Linked DNA regions of Homo sapiens: region 1 is linked to region 2. Evidence: promoter capture Hi-C in 16 types of primary human blood cells and fetal thymus (Javierre and others, 2016). All regions are on one chromosome and are shown on one strand. The core of a region is centred on a gene start or on the middle of the fragment in contact, and the rest is flanking DNA. Distances in the headings are between cores, read along the strand shown. Region 1 overlaps LOC124902869 (a long non-coding RNA gene). Region 2 holds the start of ACRBP (acrosin binding protein).

Region 1 (4,088 bases), core at 350-2,849, 520 kb before region 2:
GGCAAGTCCTCTGGGATACCTGTCATTGTCCCATGTCCCATGTTTCTACCGGACATAGTTTTTCTAAGTCTAGTGAAAGGAAAAGGAACTGGGCTTTTACTATGTTTTCCTTTTAGATTCTCACTTCCTGCTGAGAAGGTGTAAGTATAAGTAGCAAGGCGTTATGAAAGTGGGTTATAAGGATTTGCCAGTGAATGAACTATGACAAAAGGAGTATTTTTTAAAGCAAAATGTAAAAGGAAAAGTGCAAATAAAGTGACAATAAGAAAAGAAAATGCTGTTATGGAAAATGATAACTTTAGGTCAGGAAACAAGAAAAGGCAAGACCAAGATTCCCCCTAGGGTGTGCCTTCAACCCACAATCCTAGAGGGAACACCAATGCTGAAAGCCCTAGAGCATTCAGAGTGTGGCCAACAAAACCAAATGCCAAAAATCCAGAGTACCAGAGTATCAGCCAGTGAGGGTCCCTACACCAAATGCCAGAAATTCCAGAGTACCTGGGAGCTAACCAATGCCAATAACTTCAGAGCATCTAGGGAAAAGCCAACAGTGAATCCCAAAGGCCTGGTGGGAGCCACAGAACAATATGACTCCAGCGTCCCAGAGTCAACACAATGGGAGGGCTCTCACAACCAAGTGACCTGCTTTAAACAATTGCCCAAATACAGTTAACAAAAAGTCAAAGCAAAAAGCACTGCAGGCAAAACACACATTTAAGAACTGAAAATAAAATGGCTGGTTATTTAAGAAAGAGATAGTAAAGACAAGTCAAAAAGTCCAAGCATGTTGTAAATGGTCTTTGTAAGTCATGATAAGGTTCATGAAGGGGAATTTATGAAAGGAATTCTGTGTATGATTAAGCTAGCTGTAATTAAAATTGTTTAAAATAGACTTTCTACTTTGGGAGGCCAAGGTGGGTGGATCACCTGAGGTCAGGGGTTAAAGACTAGCCTGGCCAACATGGTGAAAACCCATCTCTACTAAAAATACAAAAATTAGCTGGACATGGTGGCAGGCACCTGTAATCCCAGCTACTTGGGTGGCTGAGGCAGGAGAATCACGTGAACCCCAGAGGCAGAGGTTGCAGTGAGCTGATGAGATCACGCCACTGCACTGCTACCTGGGTGACAGAGGGAGACTCCTCTGTCTCAAAAAAAAATTAAAAATTAAAAATAAATAAAATAGACTTCTAAAAAATGGTCTACATGTTAAAATCAAACTTTCTTGAGGTACTGGTTTGCTAAATTATGGGAAATTTTGCTTTCAATACTATAACCCGTTGTGTTTTTTTTTTAAGCTTCTCAAATTTGTGTCTCCAGTCCTTTTTGGGCCATCTCTTCTCCATCTCTTAGATTTCTTTGGAGTGCATCATTCTTTCTGATCTAATTACTGATACAAGTTTCACACACACACACACAACCATCACTGTGAATATTTTAAATGTCTAATGTGTGTGAGAAAGACTATTTCCAGGTATCTGGGTTTTTAATCAATGTTTATTAAAATTATAATTATAAAATCTGATTTTGCATAAGCCTTTAAATTCGAATTACAAATCTTGAAATTCTGTCTATAAATGTACTAAGTGTTGTTTTTGAAAAAATCACTTCCACTTGTTCTTTGATTGATGTTTAACTCAAACAGATTTACATTTTCTTAGCAATGAGTCCTATTTACAAAGTTAGCACATTTTTCATAACTGATATAAACCATATTCACATGCTTAATATATTGAGTTTCTTTTCCTCATGCTTTTCATTGCCTGACAAGGTAGACTTAGAATCCTTATATGCAAAATCTTTCTCACCACTTCAGCAACTCCTGTAAATCTAATTACTTGATTTGCCATGTTCAGATGTTTGATGTGTCCTAAATGTTCTAATACTGCTTATAAGCTTAAGCAGCATCTTATACCTTTCAACTGAAACTCATCAGTCTAAAATCACATATTTCAAGTTGAAAACACAATTTAAATTCAGGTTTAACTTAAATTCATACAGATTTTTAAATTTATCTTAAACTTGACTTCACAATATTATAATTTACCTCACTGACTCTATACTAAGTTTCACACCTTGTCAGAGTTGTAGAGTCATTTACCCCACTAAGCAAAGCAGTTTGACCTTCTCAGGAAGATTGTGGTTATTAGGTCAAAAACTTAGTACCTATTATGGAATGAATGTTTGTGTCCCCTCCTCCTAAAAAATTTATATGTTGAAATCCTAATCCCCAACGTGATGGCATTAGGTTGGTGCAAAAGTAACTGTGGTTTTGCCATTTTAAAAAATGGCAAAAACTGCAATAATATTAGAAGGTGGAGCCTTTGGGAGGTAATTAGGTCATGAAGGTAGAGCTCCCGTTAATGCAATTAGTGTCTTTCCTTATAAAAAGAGATATGAGTGCTCATCCTCACTCTCTCTGCTCTCCACCATGTGCAAGAAGATAGATGTCTACCAACTAGGAAGAGAGCCCTCACCAGGAACCAAATCTGCTGACACCTGGATCTTGAACTTCCCAGCCAACAGAATTGTGAGGAATAAATGTATGTATTTTAAGCCAGTGGTCACCAACCTTTTTGGCACCAGGGATCAGTTTCATGGAGGACAATTTTTCCAGAGACTGGAGGGTGGAATGGTTTCAGGATGATTCAAGCACATTACATTTATTGTGCACTTTATTTCTATTATTATTACACTGCAATACATAGTAAAATAATTGTACAACTCACCATAATGTAGAATCACTGGGAGCCCTGAACTTGTTTTCCTACAACTAGACATCCTATCTGGGGATGATGGGAGACATTGACAGGTCATCAGGCATTAGATTCTCACAAGGAGCACACAACCTAGATCCCTCACATGCACAGTTCACGACAGGGTTTGTGCTCCTATGAGAATCTAATGCTGCCACTGCTCCGACAGGAGGCAAAGCTTAGGCAGTAATGCCAGCAATGGGGAGCAGCTATAAATACAAAAGAAGCTTCACTTGCTTGCCTACCACTCACCTCCTTCTGTGGCAGCGCAGTTTCTAACAGACCACGGACTGGTACCAATCAGTGATCCAGGGGTTGGGGATCCCTGGTTTAAGCCACCCAGGCTATGGTATTCTGTTACAGCAGCCCAATTGACTAAGACAGTGCTATAAAACAGTGACTTGTCAGATTGAAGAGCAGGACAAGAGAGCTACTTTCTGCCAAGGTAATTCTCACCAGTGACCTCATGAGCATTCTCCTGGTAGATTTACCTCTGCTGACCACAGGCCAGGCTTTTGGCTGGACTGTTTCACAGCTCACATCAGCAGGGCATCTTCTGCATTGTGCCTTCTCCCATCTTAGGTAGATGGAACAGTACTGCACCCATACCTGGATCCTTAGCAAGTTTTCCTCGCTTAATAAGTTCTGCATTTTGTTTTGCATTTTTCTTGTCTCACCAGACTCTATAGCCCTGTCAATGGCCTTGTCTAATCCTCTAATTGAGGGTCATCAGACCCACATACACCTTTTCACTTACATACCCATCTGGCCTGGCCTCTAAGTCCTCATACTTCTTTAACATTGTCTAGCTTGTCTTCAAAGACCATAAGCCTTTCTCCCAATGAAATTTCCCTCTTCCCCCATCTTAATCAGCCTTTTTTTTCTTTTGTTTTTATTTATTTCCACTGCACCCGTTCCAGAAGAAAGACAAAATTCTACGTTGTTTTGTTGTTGCTGCTGCCGTTGTCTTTAACTAGTTCTTCCTTGATTCCTTGAGCAAATCTGATTCTTAGAATGTTTTAAACATAGGCATTGTAATTGCCTTCTTGAGCCTTTGGGTTTGCAGTAAGTTCAGTTATCTCTACATCCTAACAAGAAAATGGTATATAATAAGGGATTCTTCCTCCTTTTGATATCTACATTGGGAAAAATATAATATACTTAGTGAGTAAAGCCACAGTCTAGGTCTCCAAAATTCAACTTCATGGCCAAGGATTGTATAGGTAACCAAAGGATGATAAAGATTACAATTCAACACCTACCTTGAGATGGTTGGAAGTAACTCCTCAGAGCTTGTGGACAAGCCTCATGATCTGAGCTCAAGACACCTCC
Region 2 (4,203 bases), core at 90-2,589:
TGACAATTTTTGTATTTTTTGTAGAGACAGGGTTTCGCCATGTTGCCCAGGCTGGTCTGGAACTCCTGGGCTCAAGGAATCCACCCGCCTTGACTTCCCAAATGCTGGGATTACAGGCGTGAGCCACCAAGTCTGGCCCAAGACAATTTCTTGTTTTATTTTTCTTTTTTACTTTTGCTTTTGGGTGGGGACAGGGTCTCACTTTGTCACCCAGGCTGGAGAGCAGTGGCCCGATTGCACCTCACTGCAGCCTTGGCCTCATGGGCTCAAGCGATCCTCCCATCTCAGCCCCCCAAGAAACTGGGACTACAGGCACGTGCCACCACGCTTGGCTAATTTTTTGTACTTTTTGTAGAGACGAGGTTTCGCCCTGTTGCCCAGGCTGGAATTTCTCATTTTAAACACAAAACAGATACAAAAGCAAAAGTTCTCCTCCCATACCTCAGTGGACTGTCTTACTCGATTCTCCCTTGGAAACCACTTTCGTAGACCACTGAGCCACCCTCTTGTTTTCCCCTTGGACCCATTTTGCTCATGGAGGCGCCCTGTCTAGTTCCTACCCAGATAGGCCTTGACTTGGTTTTGCACATTCTATCTCTGCCTGCGCTTAGCTCTAGACCTCACGACCTGTTTGTTGGGCGAGTTGCTTCCCTAAGCCCCGATTTCTCATCTGTAAAACGAATGATAGTGTATCTACCTTATGGGATTCCTATGGCAATTACGTAAGGTAGTGCATGTAAAGATGCTAAGTGGCTGGCTACGGTGGCTCACACCTGTAATCCCAGCACTTTGGGAGGCCGAGGTGGGCAGATCATTTGAAGTCAGGAGTTCAAGACCAGCCTGGCCAACATGGTGAAACCCAGTCTCTACTAAAAATACAAAAATTAGGCCGGGCATGGTGGCTCACGCCTGTAATCCCAGCACTTTGGGAGGCCGAGGTGGGCGGATCACAAGGTCAAGAGATCGAGACCATCTGGCCAGCATGGTGAAATACCATCTCTACTAAAAATACAAAAATTAGCTGGGCGTGGTGGCGTGCACCTATAGTCCCAGCTACTCGGGAGGCTGAGGCAGGAGAATCACTTGAACCTGGGACGCCGAGGTTGTAGTGAGCCGAGATCGCACCACTGCACTCCAGCCTGGGCGACAGAGTAGGACTCCGTCTCAAAAAAAAAAGAAAAAGACGCTAAGTGAAGGTAGCTGTTTGCCATTCCTACCATCTGGATGGGCTCTGGCCACTTTAGGGCCCTGAGAGCCCGGCTGTCGAGGCCCCGCCCCGGCCCGCTCTTTGTGACGCGTGGGCGGTGCCCGCGTGCGCCCCGCCCCGCGCCTGCGGCTCTCTCTGCGGCTTGGCCCGTTAGAGGCGGCTTGTGTCCACGGGACGCGGGCGGATCTTCTCCGGCCATGAGGAAGCCAGCCGCTGGCTTCCTTCCCTCACTCCTGAAGGGTGAGAGGTTTACACCTGCTCCAACAGACTCTCCCCGGGCTAGTCCTCTCCCTCCCGAGAGCTCTGCTTTTACGGTTTCTGGATCGCTTCCTCATGGTGGTCGCGCTGGGTCGGCTCCCTAGGTCCTGGGATACTCCCATCTCCCCCCGCCCGCGGCCGGACCTTTGCCTCTGTCTCTAGACTCCCCCCGCCCTGGTCAGCAGGGATAACCCTCACCCCGTTCCTAATTTGCCAGTCTGGGTCTGTCTGTCCTGGTCTCGGAGCGGGTTTTGGGGTTCGGTCCTTCCATCATCCGTTCGCCCGCTCCGCAGTGCTGCTCCTGCCTCTGGCACCTGCCGCAGCCCAGGATTCGACTCAGGCCTCCACTCCAGGCAGCCCTCTCTCTCCTACCGAATACGAACGCTTCTTCGCACTGCTGACTCCAACCTGGAAGGCAGAGACTACCTGCCGTCTCCGTGCAACCCACGGCTGCCGGAATCCCACACTCGTCCAGCTGGACCAATATGAAAACCACGGCTTAGTGCCCGATGGTGAGGGCCAGACTAGGGGGGAAACCGAGGCACCCAGAGTGTTCACCCAAACCTCAGGGCAAAAACCCCTGTGCTCATGTGAGGCGGGGAAGGGCATGGCTGGCACCACACCATGAGCTCGTACTCTCCACCCTCCCCATGGCGTGGAGTCCATTGCCCACAGCCCCACCCCAAGCTCCCCACGGGTTCATCTTCTCCACCCCTGCCCTTTCTCAGGTGCTGTCTGCTCCAACCTCCCTTATGCCTCCTGGTTTGAGTCTTTCTGCCAGTTCACTCACTACCGTTGCTCCAACCACGTCTACTATGCCAAGGTGAGGCCCAGGACAAAGGTTGGATTTGGTGCCCCAGGGCCAAGGGAGAGGCGGCAGCAGTGGGGAGTTGAGGAAGGGTTCCAGGAGAGTCATCCTTAGCTCCTCCTTCCCTGCCATTTTGCCAGTCATTTACCCAGATTATATATGAATACAGTCTCACCTTGGATATTCAGATTGAACAATTCTGTTACTGCAAGAAAAGTAGAGAAGAGACTGGGCATGGTGGCTCATGCCTGTAATCTCAGCACTTTGGGAGCCCGAGATGGGCAGATCACCTGAAGTCAGGAGTTCGAGACCAGCCTGGCCAACATGGTGAAACCCCGTTTCTACTAAAAATACAAAAAAAAAAAAAAAAAATAGCCGGGCTTGGTGATGGGCGCCTGTAATCCCAGCTACTCGGGAGGCTGAGGCAGGAGAATTGCTTGAACCCGGGAGGCAAAGGTTGCAGTAAGCCGAGATCATGCCACTGCACCCTATCCTGAGTGGCAGAGCAAGACTGTGTCTCAAAAAAAAACAACAACAGGGACGAGTGCGGTGGCTCACGCCTGTAATCCCAGCACTTTGGGAGGCCGAGGCAGGCAGATCATGAGGTCAGGAGATCGAGACCATCCTGGCTAACACGGTGAAACTCTGTCTCTACTAAAAATACAAAAAATTAGCTGGGCGTGGTGGCAGGCGCCTGTAGTCCCAGCTACTCGAGAGACTGAGGCAGGAGAATGGCGTGAACCCGGGAGGTGGGGCTTGCAGTGAGCCGAGATCGCGCCACTGCACTCCAGCCTGGGTGACAGAGTGAGACTCCGTCTCAAAAAAAAAAAACAAAAAAAACAAACCCAAAACCCAAACAAAAAGAAGTAGGGAAGAGGGATGGGAAGAGGCAAAGAGATAAGCCCTTACGTTTCTTCGAACAGGTCAGTGATTTTGAGTCAAATGCAAAAGTGACGGCAGGGATGTGGCCCAGACAAACAGAGATTCATCTTCTGAAGGGACCCTTTCTCAGGTCTAGAGGGTTCCAGCAGGGACCATGTCCCTTTATCCCTGCCTAGAAACTGAGAGATAAGACATGCTGGAAAAGGGGTTGAAGAACCAGCTGGAGCAGAAGTCTGCCCTTTAGGAAAGGCTTTCCCATTTTCCTTCTCTTCCTGCAGAGAGTCCTGTGTTCCCAGCCAGTCTCTATTCTCTCACCTAACACTCTCAAGGAGATAGAAGCTTCAGCTGAAGTCTCACCCACCACGATGACCTCCCCCATCTCACCCCACTTCACAGGTGAGACCCTCTCAGCAGCCGGGAGACCACCAGCTACTCCCACAACTCCCAGAGCCCACAACGTAAGGCATCCATGGCAGGGAAATGGGAAGCATGTTGGGCGGGAAGGGGGCGCCAGCAGACAGCTGTTTACACAAAGGAGTGTCAGCTTTTTATGAATACAAGTTAGGGCTCTCCTGGACCAGAATCTCTTCTGCCATTACTTACAATTTTGCCCTGAATCCATTTTTCCCAATTCCAGAGACATTGTTGCATTACAAAGGACCTCTAGGCCCTTTATAAGCTAATGTCTTCACTTTAGAAAGGATTGACTGCTAGCTACTCAGCATACTTGGTGTTTCCTAAGGGAGAGGGACAAATGGTGGTATTTGAGGTGGAAGTTAGGGAAGGAGGAGTGCTTGCCAGGGAGGTGGGAAGGTGATGCATACCACCAGCCTTACAGTTGCCGTGGTAATGTTCTTTTAGTTTAATACTTATGTTCTTTTCTGTGTTTTTCTGTGTGTATAAGTGTGACTTGGTCTGCTTTGTTTATGTGTGTGTCCCTCTGTGAACAAAGACACTCAGGGGCTAGAAGCCTGACTGTCTCTCTCCCTTCTCTCTAAACCCTGCTGTAGTGACAGAACGCCAGACCTTCCAGCCCTGGCCTGAGAGG

The links. The method cuts DNA at HindIII sites, captures the fragments that hold promoters and counts their contacts. A CHiCAGO score of 5 or more calls a contact.
Region 1: a contact is called between a fragment that was not itself captured here and the fragment with the promoter of ACRBP in region 2, in 1 of 17 cell types (non-activated CD4 T cells). The highest score is 5.4, in non-activated CD4 T cells.

What each region holds. Positions count from the first base shown.
Region 1 is chr12:7,165,142-7,169,229 of GRCh38, reverse strand. It overlaps LOC124902869 (a long non-coding RNA gene), which reads left to right. Exons shown (of 2, transcript XR_007063196.1): 2 at 2,441-2,556. Among named protein-coding and RNA genes, the nearest start is that of PEX5, 22 kb to the left of the region's middle. The HindIII fragment of the contact is 598 bases long and covers 1,301-1,898 here.
Region 2 is chr12:6,644,568-6,648,770 of GRCh38, reverse strand. ACRBP (acrosin binding protein) reads left to right here and starts at 1,339. Exons shown (of 10, transcript NM_032489.3): 1 at 1,339-1,447; 2 at 1,759-1,977; 3 at 2,194-2,288; 4 at 3,434-3,551; 5 at 4,166-4,203. The coding sequence starts at 1,405. RefSeq lists enhancers at 1,412-1,481, 1,405-1,918. The HindIII fragment of the contact is 16,958 bases long and covers 1-3,496 here.